4 separate regions of the Homo sapiens genome follow, and regions 1, 2 and 4 are each linked to region 3. Evidence: promoter capture Hi-C in 16 types of primary human blood cells and fetal thymus (Javierre and others, 2016). All regions are on one chromosome and are shown on one strand. The core of a region is centred on a gene start or on the middle of the fragment in contact, and the rest is flanking DNA. Distances in the headings are between cores, read along the strand shown.

Region 1 (2,700 bases), core at 164-2,663, 420 kb after region 3:
TCTTGTGCCCAGAGCCTCCTCCCATATAGAACAGAGTCCCCTGTGTGCCCCAGATCCTGACTCCCCTCACTCTATCCTTCCTTTGTCCCGAATCATCTCCCTCACTTCCTTCAAAGTTTTGCTCAAATGTCCCTTTCTCAGTAAGGCTCTCGCTGCACATTCTACTTTAAACTACAACATCTGGAATATCCAAATGACTAACAAAATGTGGAAAGGGTTTACTTCATTCACGGTTAACGAAATGCAACTTAAACCACAAAATGCACTGCCCCTTTGCAACCAAGCTTCTCAGAGAAAGGAGCCTAATGTATTTGTACTTTCTCTATCTTTTTCACTTCTCAGTCCCTGCAATCCTGCTGCAGTCTCTAAAACAGCTCTTCGCGAGGATTGCCAATAACCTCAAGTTTGCTAAATGTCATGGAAACCTTGCAAATTGTGTTCTGGTTAGCCTCTCAAAAAGGAGAGTGGCCCCTCAAAATCCCACACCGGCTGGATCAACCACCTCCCCACAACCCCCATGATCAGGAAAGGACATGTCCTGGCTATATTCCAAATGCCCCCCAGCACCCAGGCACTATGGAGGAAACCAAAGGGAGAAGAAGAACCAAAAACCTTGCAAGGTAATTATGGGCAGGATATATATATACAAACATATAAGGCAGCAAACCATACGGGGGCAATTCACTAGAAAACAGGAGGTATAAGTGTTCAGCAAAGTTGGATAATGGCATCTCCAACCAAAGCCTTCGAGAGGCTCCATTATCCCAAGTCCTCCATCATCCCAAACCCTCCACAAGGTGATGACCTGCCACACCACCCACCATAACCAGGCCCTGAGGTCGACACCAAGTGAAGGCAATAAATCTTCCATTATAGAAAACTCATAGCTACGAAGAGAGAAGCTGCCACAATATTGTGAAAGAAAATGAGCCAAGTGAGACATTATATCCAATCTCTGTATCCATCTCTTCACTTGAGAGCCTTCTGCTCAGGGAGATAAAGAGATAGAAATGTGACAGGTGGATGGATAAATAGGTAAGTAGGTAGGTAGGTAGGTAGATGAGATACTTCAAAATCTAACAGGAATACAAAAGAGGAGAGACTAGAGAAAACAGTTGAAAAGAACCAGTTTTTGGAGACAAAATGGCTGAGACTTTCCTAATCCTTGAAAAACATGTCACAGTCAAGTCCTGAGCAGGATAAAAAAAATTAAATTCACACCCAGACACATCGTGCTAAATACAGAGAAGATCTCGAAATCAAACAGGAAGAAATTACAGACTATGTATCAAAATAGGATATAATGGAAGCTTTCATCAATCTTGGGAAAGGTAGGGTAGTATCTGGGGACAACCAAACTTGGACATTCTAATACTTTCTGGGGTCTCTGTCCTAACTCTCGCATTCCTGCTTCTCTGGGCCTGTTTCTAACACACACTCTGCACTATCAATCACAAAAAGAGACTGCCGCTGCATTCCCACCTCTCCTTCAAAAAGAATCCCAGAGAAAGCTTCTGATTGGTCCAATGGGAGGTCATGTGCTCACCCTTGGGCCAATCAACTATGGCTACGAGGGTGAAACCTGAAATTGACAATCCCCACAAGAATCCTCAGGTGGGAATGGAATAGGGAAGAATAGCAAACGCAGTTCAACAAAGGAAGGTTGGCAGCGACTGGAGGTGGGAGAAAAATGAAGCATTCCCAGAAGAAGGGAGGAGTACTGGGCAGACGAAACAGCAAATACTGCCTGCACTACATTTTCTGATCCTCTGAGAAAGGAGATGGGCTTATTTCTGAATTCATTCATAACCAATTCCCTTCCTTCTCTGTTATCAGCAAAATAGAGAGATTAAGGGTTTGGGTTCCGGAGCAAGACTGCCTGGGTTCAGATACGAACTCTTACTAACTGTGTGACCTTAGACAAGGTACTTAACTTCTCTGTACCACAGTTTCCTCAACTATCAAATAGGGATAGTCTATGACCTACTTCTGAGATTGTTTGAGGATGAAACGGGTTTATACAAGTACAGGTGTAAATGTTCAAACAGCGGCTGGAACGTGGTAAATGATTTAAAAATGTCAGGCATTATTATTTTAGAATAATCAGTATAAAGTTAAGAAGCGAGTATAGAACAGGATCTCTCAACCACGGCATCAATGACACTTAGGGCTGGACCAATTTTTGTTTTAGGAGCTGTTTGGTGCACTGTAGGGCATTTAGCAGCACCTCTGTCCTCTACCCACTAGATGCTGGTAGCACACCTACCCCAAATTGTGGCATCCAAAAATGTCTCCAGACATGGCCAAAATGTCCCCTTGGGTGGACATTTCCAGTCGAGAACCACTGCTATATAAAGAACAATAGGTGGGAGGTAGGAGGCTTGGGGTCTAGGCACGGCTCCACCCTCATTGCTGGACACTCCTTGGTAAGTTTCTTGATCCCTTTGGGCCTTGCTTTTCTTATTCATTACATGGAGATGACACCTACCCTACCTCCTGGAGCTGTTACAAGAGTCAAACCTATCAAAGGATACAAAAGGTACCATAGAAAGCTCTGAGATCTCCCAGTCCCACCCCCACAAATCCTGTCCATATTCTCCTGGGTCAGGAAACCCAGCTTCGAAGAAATGAATGGAGAAAAGGAACAAGAAAAGAAAACTAACATGAATGGTTACCATGGCCAAACATGTTACATTCATT
Region 2 (2,743 bases), core at 101-2,600, 390 kb after region 3:
TTCTCACCTGTATCATAAAGAATAAGCTTTAGCTTGCAGGGAATCAGGAAAAAGACAGTAGAAATCCTGTTAAGTTAGGAAAATGGAAGAAAAATTTGAAAACATTAGTTTGGAGACTTGTAGCCCAGAAAGGACTTAAGATTCAATCCAAATAGCAGCAAATAATTTTTCAACTCAAAAACAATGAACAAAAACAATGAACAAGAACAGAATCTAACAGCAGGTATATTATAAGCTTTCTCTATCCAGTCTTTCATTTTTATCAGTGGCAAATCACAGCAGGACCAATTTGCAAAACAAGTTTTGATCTTATTATACTTGGCCTGATTATTTGCATAAGGTACAACAAAAATAATTATTTCCCATACAGACCGTCTTCTAAATTGGCTTTCCTAGAACTTTTTCCATAAGGAATATCAGATTTGACACTTTTTAAAGCCTCGAGCCCAGTCACATATTTATCTGTGCCTGCAAATACTTATATGAGTTGGGTGAATTCCTCTCTTCTGGAGGTCCCAAGATAAACGGGGGCTTCTGGGCCCGTTAGAAAGTGATGTTCTTGCCTGGCATGGTGGCTCACCCCTGTAATCCCAGCACTTTGGGAGGCCGAGGCGGGCAAATCACCTGAGGTTAGGAGTTTGAGACCAGCCTGGCCAACATGGTGAAACGTCGTCTCTACTAAAAATACAAAAATTAGCCAGGTGTTGTGGCAGGCACCTGTAGTCTCAGCTACTCGGGAGGCTGAGGCAGGAGAATCCTTTGAACCCAGGAGGCAGAGGTCGCACTGAGCCAAGATCATGCCACTGCACTCCAGCCTGGGTGACAGTGAGACTCTGTCTCAAAAAAAAAAAGTGATGTTCTTTACTTACCACAGTTAGGTACCCTATACAGGGACTATGTAGACAAGGTATGAGACCAGTTCTCCCAAGGAGATTTATCAGCTCTGTAAGTCAACTTTGATTCCCTAAAGCAGTCTGCTTATATGTGAAAGCATGTCATTTCAGTGAAAGCCTGGGTAAAATAACCACTGTCTCCAAGTGTGTCCTATTATAAAAGAAAACAGATTCTTATTGCACTTACGCAAATAACTATGTTGCCATAAGTTAAGAATACTCACAAATAGTTTTCAAATTCTATTTGAAAATAGAGAAATCAGGCAGAGAAAATTTGTTCACAGGAGCGTACTTTACTCAATTGTTAAAACTTATAAAGTAGCTCAAAAGAAAAAAAAGTGTTCTTGACTCTGAAAAACAAAACAAAAAGGACCAGCAACATTTCAAGCAAAATCTTTTATTAGTTTGGTCCGTGCAATTAACTTCTGGTCTGCTCAATATTTATGAACACATTACCTCCCCAAGAGAGTCTTGGAAATTTTTCCCTCTATTCTAATGACTCAATCCTCAAAGTTATCAGAGACCTGAATTCAAGAGTACCTGTCAGAGTCTTCTAGCTGATTATAAACTGTCTTTTGAATGAGATCAAAACAAGACGATTGTCTGTAGAGGACAAAAGTCTTAGGGCAGCCACAGTTAAAGATGCAATTGACAAGGAAATCTGGTCATCTCTGTGGCACACAGTCATTTAACATAATAATCATAATTATTAACAACATAATACTGAGATATATTAGAATTATAGGAATTTTATATAATTTTGTGATACATACAAATAACATATAAATATAACCCAAAGAAAGTTAAACACCGTTTTATATTTGACAATGTTTCCTGCAGTTTTTATGTACCAAATAAGCTAGATACGTCTCTTTTGGACTTCAGGGAACCTAATATCTAAAAAGGTCAATCAAGTCAAAAAAAGATTAGAGTATGATTTTGAAAAGTTAATCAAATATCAAAGGTTTAAAACACTTTTCATCACAAAATAGAACCACAGTTTATTTTAGTCAAAGTGATTAACTCAAATATTTCAAAAAAGCAAAACTCCATTAGTCTTTTATAGAGAGGAGACAGCTTTCCAAACAACAAAAACCAAAAAAGACAGCATGAAGCCAGCTGAATCTGTCTCTTCTCTCTCCCTTTTTCCTGCAGGCAAATGAAAATCTTGCTTAAAAGGGAAAACCATATGCTACCTCTGCATTAGTGTATTAATGCTAAAGTTCATTTTAATAAAATTTTATAAGGAAATCTATCGAATTGTAACCCATTTGACCATAAGGTAAGAATTTTATAAACCTTTTATAACCCTTTATAATTTTTTGTTAAAGAACAGATCAATACTCCAAGAAAACCCTGTTGTTCTGACACATGGGCCCAAATTCTGGCCCTGCATCAATATGATTTTATTTTAATGTGTAATTTATGGGAAAACTAAATAATAATCTTAATTTTAGCCAACTTGCTCACACACAGAATTTTCTTAATAATATTAATTTGTCACAAACCTTCTTCAACTTGCTTAAACCATCAGTTTTATTCTACCTTTCTTTTAACCTAAGACAAGCTTTAAACCTGCAAACCCTGAAAATCTCAGACAGGTCTCAGTTAATTTAGAAAGTTTATTTAGCCAAGGTTGAGGACAGACGCCCGAGATACAGCCTCAGGAGGTCTTGATAACATGTGCCCAAGGTGGTCAAGGCACAGCTTGGTTTTTTACTTTTAGGGAGATATGAGGCATCAATCAATACATGTAAGATGTACTATACGTTGGTTCCCTCTGGAAAAATGGGATAACTCAAGCAGGGAGGGGGCTTCCAGGTCACAGGTAGGTGAGAGACAAATGGGTT
Region 3 (2,738 bases), core at 181-2,680:
GATTAAGAAAATGTGGCACATATACACCGTGGAATACTATGCAGCCATAAAAAATATGAGTTCATGTCCTTTGTAGGGACATGGATGAAGATGGAAACCATCATTCTCAGCAAACTATCGCAAGGACAAAAAACCAAACACCGCATGTTCTCACTCACAGGTGGGAATTGAACAATGAGAGCACTTGGACACAGGAAGGGGAACATCACACCCAGGGGCCTATTGTGGGATGCGGGGAGCGGGGAGGGATAGCATTAGGAGTTATACCTAATGTAAATGACAAGTTAATGGGTGCAGCACATCAACATGGCACATGTATACATATGTAACAAACCTGCACGTTGTGCACTTGTACCCTAAAACTTAAAGTATAAAAAAAAAAAAGATCAATGCAGTGATCATGGTGATATTTTCCTGCTCAGCCCAAGTTCACACATATTTTATTTTTCTCAACATGATGACAGCCACTCTCACACTGACTTTTGGAATGTCATGTATGTTGAACTGGGTCTGAAGACATGGTTTTAACTCAGGCTCTGTCATTTTCTACCTCAGTGATTGCACAACAGCAAAGCAGAATTTTCACTACTTCCATGAATATAATCATTACTATATGACTTTACTTGCATCATCTCCTTTGGTTACTATTACTACTGTGGGAGATGGGTATTCTCATTTTATAGACAAGGAAATTGACCTCTGGACCTCAGGAAGGTTAAGAAATGAGCCCACTGCCACACAATAAACACCAGATAAAGGAGGCAGACTGACTCCAAAGTCAGTCTATTTAAGTGCAAATTTATTTCGCCTCCAAAGGGACCTCCCAGTCATCAGACCTGATTCTTTGTTGTACAGAGTGGGTCAGGTCCAGTGATGTCTGAACTACCTTCTGGTTCTGACTTTCAGCCATTCTCAGCTCCTCTCTTGCTTGTGTCTGGATTCTAAGGCTGATCTCATGAGAATGGGTGTTTCAGAAGGGTGCCCTCTCCAAGACAGGTGCACCTCCCATCTGGGGCAGTGAATATCCCTTTTGTCCTTATGCAGCCTGGCTTCAGATACTGGCTTCTGCCTGGCTCCTTGATCCCACCCTGCCCTTGTCAGTGACCAAGAAGAAGCCCAGCACCTTGGCACTGCTTTCCCAGTTAATTTCTAACTATGGAATCTCTTGCTGTTAGAAGGTGCGAAACAGTGACCTTGTATTTCCGGGCACAGGTGTGACCCCCCAATGTCAATCATTTGGGGTCTCTAGCTATTAGGAAAAAGAACAACAACAACCTCACAGCTTGGACAAGGCAAACATTATGCCAGGAGGAAAAAATATTCCACCCCCAAGAAAACAATATCAAAAAACAGAACTAGAGACTAATTGGAGGAGAGATTGCCAGCCTGGGGCAAATGTGTATATATAAGTATGAGGCACATCATGACCAGACTAACTCTACCTTTCTGGCTTCAGGTAAGGCTATCTGTAGCTGTCTTCTCCTAGCCCAGCTTCTCCCCATCCTATTTGAGGGAGGTAGGAGAGGAAATTAAGACCTTGGACACTGGGGTCAGACCTGGATTTGAGTCATTATTCTGCCAATTATTGGCTTCATGATCTTTAGTAAGTTAGTTTTCCTCTCTTTGATCCTCTCTGTCCTAGTAACAATGACTACTATTTTTTGACTTATTCCATGAATATTAGTTATGCACCTATTATGTGCCAGGTACCAGGGTTACAACAATGAACAACTTGCTATGTGCTGGGCCCTGCTCGACATATGTCATCTTAGTTAATCCCAGTGACAATATGCAGTGTTTTAGGTCGCATCTTATTAGCGGGTCATAAAATCATTCCTTTTGTGGGTTATATCCAGGGACTTCTTTTAATTAAATATAATAGAATATGTCAGTAAGCAATACAAATTTGAGGCAAGCAGTTAGCCTCTTTGTCCCCCTGTTTTCTCATCTGCAAACTAGGATAATACTTATCTCATAGGGTTGTGGTAAGAATTAAATCACTTAATGTAGTAAGGATATCAATTGTCTTATAAAATTTTATGTGTGTGTGCACATACATGCAGAAGCGACTGCACTAGATCATGACATAAAATGTTTTTCTTTCTTTCTGTCTTTTTTTTTTTGGGGGGGGGGGATGGACTCTCTGTCACCCAGGCAGGAGTGCAGTGGCACGATCTCAGCTCACTGCAACCTCTGCCTCCCAGGTTCAAGCAATCCTCCTGTCTCAGCCTCCCGAGTAGCTGGGATTACAGGCGCCCACCACCATGCCCGGCTAATTTTTGTATTTTTATTAGAGATGGGGTTTCACCATGCTGGCCAGGCTGGTCTCAAACTCCTGACCTTGTGATCCACCCCCTCAGTCTCCCAAAGTGTTGGGATTACAGGCATGAGCCACTGCACCTGGCAACATAAAATGTTTTTCTTTTAGTACATCATGGTCACGAAGATCTGGAAAACGTTGCTCTAGGACCCAATGCCTTTGAGCACATGAATGTCTTTGAACTGAGCCTGGCCCATCATAGATATTCAGTTTGTGAAAGCAACAATCTCCATTTCACAGACAAAAACGGAGACTTAGTAAACTGAAATACCCACATCACAGTGTTAGTGATCAGTAAAGCAGGGATTTGAACCTCAGGTGCAGGCTGCAGCTCCTACATACTTAACCAACATGCCACCCTATTTTGCTGCTATAAACACTGGGGTAATACTGGCATCCACCCTGGACTATTTTTCCA
Region 4 (2,700 bases), core at 113-2,612, 340 kb before region 3:
TAAGCTCAAGACTTTGGGATTCCAAAGACCCTGCATTTTACCAGGATACCAAATTGTTCCTCTGAGAATCCCAAGTGAATAAAAAGAGCCAACATCGACTATGCCCAGCACCGTGTGCTACATGCTTTTTATAAATTATTTCATCTAGTTCTAACAAACAAATGAAGAAGCAAAGAAAACACCCTGGGAGGTAGGTATTGTTGTTATCATTCCTATTTTACAAATAAGGTAGGTGTTGGGTGCTGTGGCTCATGCCTGTAATCCCAGCACTTTAGGAGGCTGAGGCGGGCAGATCACCTGAGGTCAAGAGCTCAAGACCACCCTGGCCAACATGATGAAACCCTGTCTCTATTAAAAATACAAAAATTAACTGGGTGTGGTGGCGGGCACCTATAATCCCAGCTACTTGGGAGGCTGAGGCAAGAGACTCAATTAAACCTGGGAGGCGGAGGTTGCAGTGAGCCAAGACCATGCCATTGCATTCCAGCCTGGGTGACAGCATGAGATTCTGTCTCAAAAGCAACCGAAAACCAATTAAGGGAGGTGAGGCCCAGAGCAAGAAGGTCCACAAAGATGACATGGAGGTTAAGTGGCAGACCTAAGGCTCAAACTCAGACCTTTCTGCCTCCAGACCTCCAGAGCCCAGGCTCTTATCCATTAGGCTACACTGACTCTCAGCTGTCATTTAAGGGAGACTATGGTGATGTAGGGCTGGGAAGGGGGAGCAGGTTAGCCACAGAGAACTAGTGAAAATGCACCATTGGATCTAGTTCATTCACACCCCTAGCCATGCCACCGGAATTGGAGGTGACTTCGTATACGTGGTTTGTTTTTCTTTTTTTTTTTTTTTTTGAGACAGAGTCTCTGTCTCCCAGGCTGGAGTGCAGTGGCATGATCTCGGCTCACTGCAAGCTCCGCCTCCCGTGTTCACGCCATTCTCCTGCCTCAGCCTCCCGAGTAGCTGGGACTACAGGCGCCCACCACCACACCCGGCTAATTTTTTGTATTTTTAGTAGAGACGGGGTTTCACCGTGTTAGCCAGGATGGTCTCCATCTCCTGACCTCGTGATCCGCCCGCCTCGGCCTCCCAATGTGCTGGGATTACAGGCGCGAGCCACTGCGCCCGGCCCACATGGTTTGTTTTCTAAGTGATTATCTCTCCGTGGAGGCCTGTAATTGTTTCTGTCCTATTTTACCTGAGCATCTCCTCCCCCTACTGAATTACCCAATTCCTAACAAGTTCTCTGTTCAAGGTCCCCCTTCGCTGTGGCCAGAAGCCAAGTTCTGCTGGGTGCACAATCCTGCGGATCACCTGATCAGAGAGAACTGAACCTACAAAAGAGAGCTCAACCTCCTTTTCCATACCTACCAGGGACCTAGTTCAGCTACGTCCTAAACAGTACCAGGTAAGACAGAGGTGAAGGTCAGCTTCTATCTGTGTGTGTGTGTGTGTGTGTGTGTGTGTGTGTGTGTGTGTGTGTGTGTAATCCAATTTTAAGTTCTGGCAATGCTACTTTTAAGTTGAGTGACCTTGGGCAAGTCACTTAACTTCTTGGCACTTCATTTTAGAGGCAAAATGACAATGGTGATATTGGGTGAGAGGAATAAATAGGAACGTACATGTAATATGTTTAGCACAGTGGCTGGCATGTAAATGGGGACTGGTTTAGTGTCAGGCAGCTCTGAATGTGGTGAGCCGTGGGAGACAGGCACAAAGTCAGAGATGAATGTTTGAAGGAAATCTTTTCTATCTATGCAGAAGTTGGCTCACTTTCTATAAAGTGAATGCCTTCTAAAAAAAATTATCCAAGCATAGTAATACATGCCTGTGGTCCCAGGTACTTGAAAGGCTGAGGCAGGAGGATGACTGTAGCCCAGGAGATTGAGGCTGCAGTGAGCTATGATCACACCACTGCACTCCAGTCCAGGTGACAGTTTCAAAAAAAATGGTTAACATCTAATGGGGAGGGGGTTGGCTTCAGAATTTGCTGGGAGTTAAAAGGTACCTCAACATTTATTGAGTCCTTACCGTGCACTTCATTCAGTGCCAGCAAGTAAATTATCACACTAATCCTTATGGGGAGCTGGGAAGAAGGTATTACTACTGTGCGCTTAAGTTCAGAGACATGAACAGCACCAAAGACCCAGCTGCTAGACAACAGAGACAAACATCTAGCCCTGGCTCTGTAACTCTGGGATACCCTATAACACAGTAAGTATGTTGCTTCATTAAATAGCTTTATCAGTCCCAAGTCCTGTGAAGTCAAAGCTTAGTTGCAGGAGCTGTTCAAGGCACTATGTATCTGGGAATACAGTGGGGAGCCCAGCTGCCTCTCAAAGCTACCATGTCAAATTGCTTTCAGAATGCACTTTAAGCAGTTCAGAAAATTGTTCTTTAAAATGATTTCATAGGATGTGCTTTAATGATATGCTCTAACAGGGTAGGAACTCTTTCAGTTTAATTAATCTCCAATAGTATCTAAAACTGTACATGGTACATCTATAGTAAATACTTGAGAAAGAAAAAATACATTTTTCTATAACTCAGATAATTTGTGGGCACACTGGCTTTTCTCTTTCTGACTTTCATCACTCAGTTTTCTGAATTATGACAAAGAAGGGAAGAATCTAACTTTTTGTTGAGCACTTACTATGTCCAGCACGGTGAGAAATAGACAAACTAAGCTTTGTGAAGTCAAA

What was found. The method cuts DNA at HindIII sites, captures the fragments that hold promoters and counts their contacts. A CHiCAGO score of 5 or more calls a contact.
Region 1: a contact is called between a fragment that was not itself captured here and the fragment with the promoter of UMOD in region 3, in 1 of 17 cell types (M1 macrophages). The highest score is 5.9, in M1 macrophages.
Region 2: a contact is called between a fragment that was not itself captured here and the fragment with the promoter of UMOD in region 3, in 1 of 17 cell types (endothelial precursors). The highest score is 5.2, in endothelial precursors.
Region 4: a contact is called between the fragment with the promoter of ACSM1 here and the fragment with the promoter of UMOD in region 3, in 2 of 17 cell types (M1 macrophages and M0 macrophages). The highest score is 6.0, in M1 macrophages.

What each region holds. Positions count from the first base shown.
Region 1 is chr16:19,932,774-19,935,473 of GRCh38, reverse strand. No RefSeq gene overlaps it. Among named protein-coding and RNA genes, the nearest start is that of GPRC5B, 49 kb to the right of the region's middle. The HindIII fragment of the contact is 201 bases long and covers 1,313-1,513 here.
Region 2 is chr16:19,956,461-19,959,203 of GRCh38, reverse strand. No RefSeq gene overlaps it. Among named protein-coding and RNA genes, the nearest start is that of GPRC5B, 73 kb to the right of the region's middle. The HindIII fragment of the contact is 2,225 bases long and covers 238-2,462 here.
Region 3 is chr16:20,351,407-20,354,144 of GRCh38, reverse strand. UMOD (uromodulin) reads left to right here and starts at 1,430. Exons shown (of 11, transcript NM_003361.4): 1 at 1,430-1,456. The HindIII fragment of the contact is 11,139 bases long and covers 1-2,738 here.
Region 4 is chr16:20,696,342-20,699,041 of GRCh38, reverse strand. ACSM1 (acyl-CoA synthetase medium chain family member 1) reads left to right here and starts at 1,362. Exons shown (of 14, transcript NM_001318890.3): 1 at 1,362-1,406. It also overlaps a transcript of ACSM3 not described here. The HindIII fragment of the contact is 2,330 bases long and covers 1-2,271 here.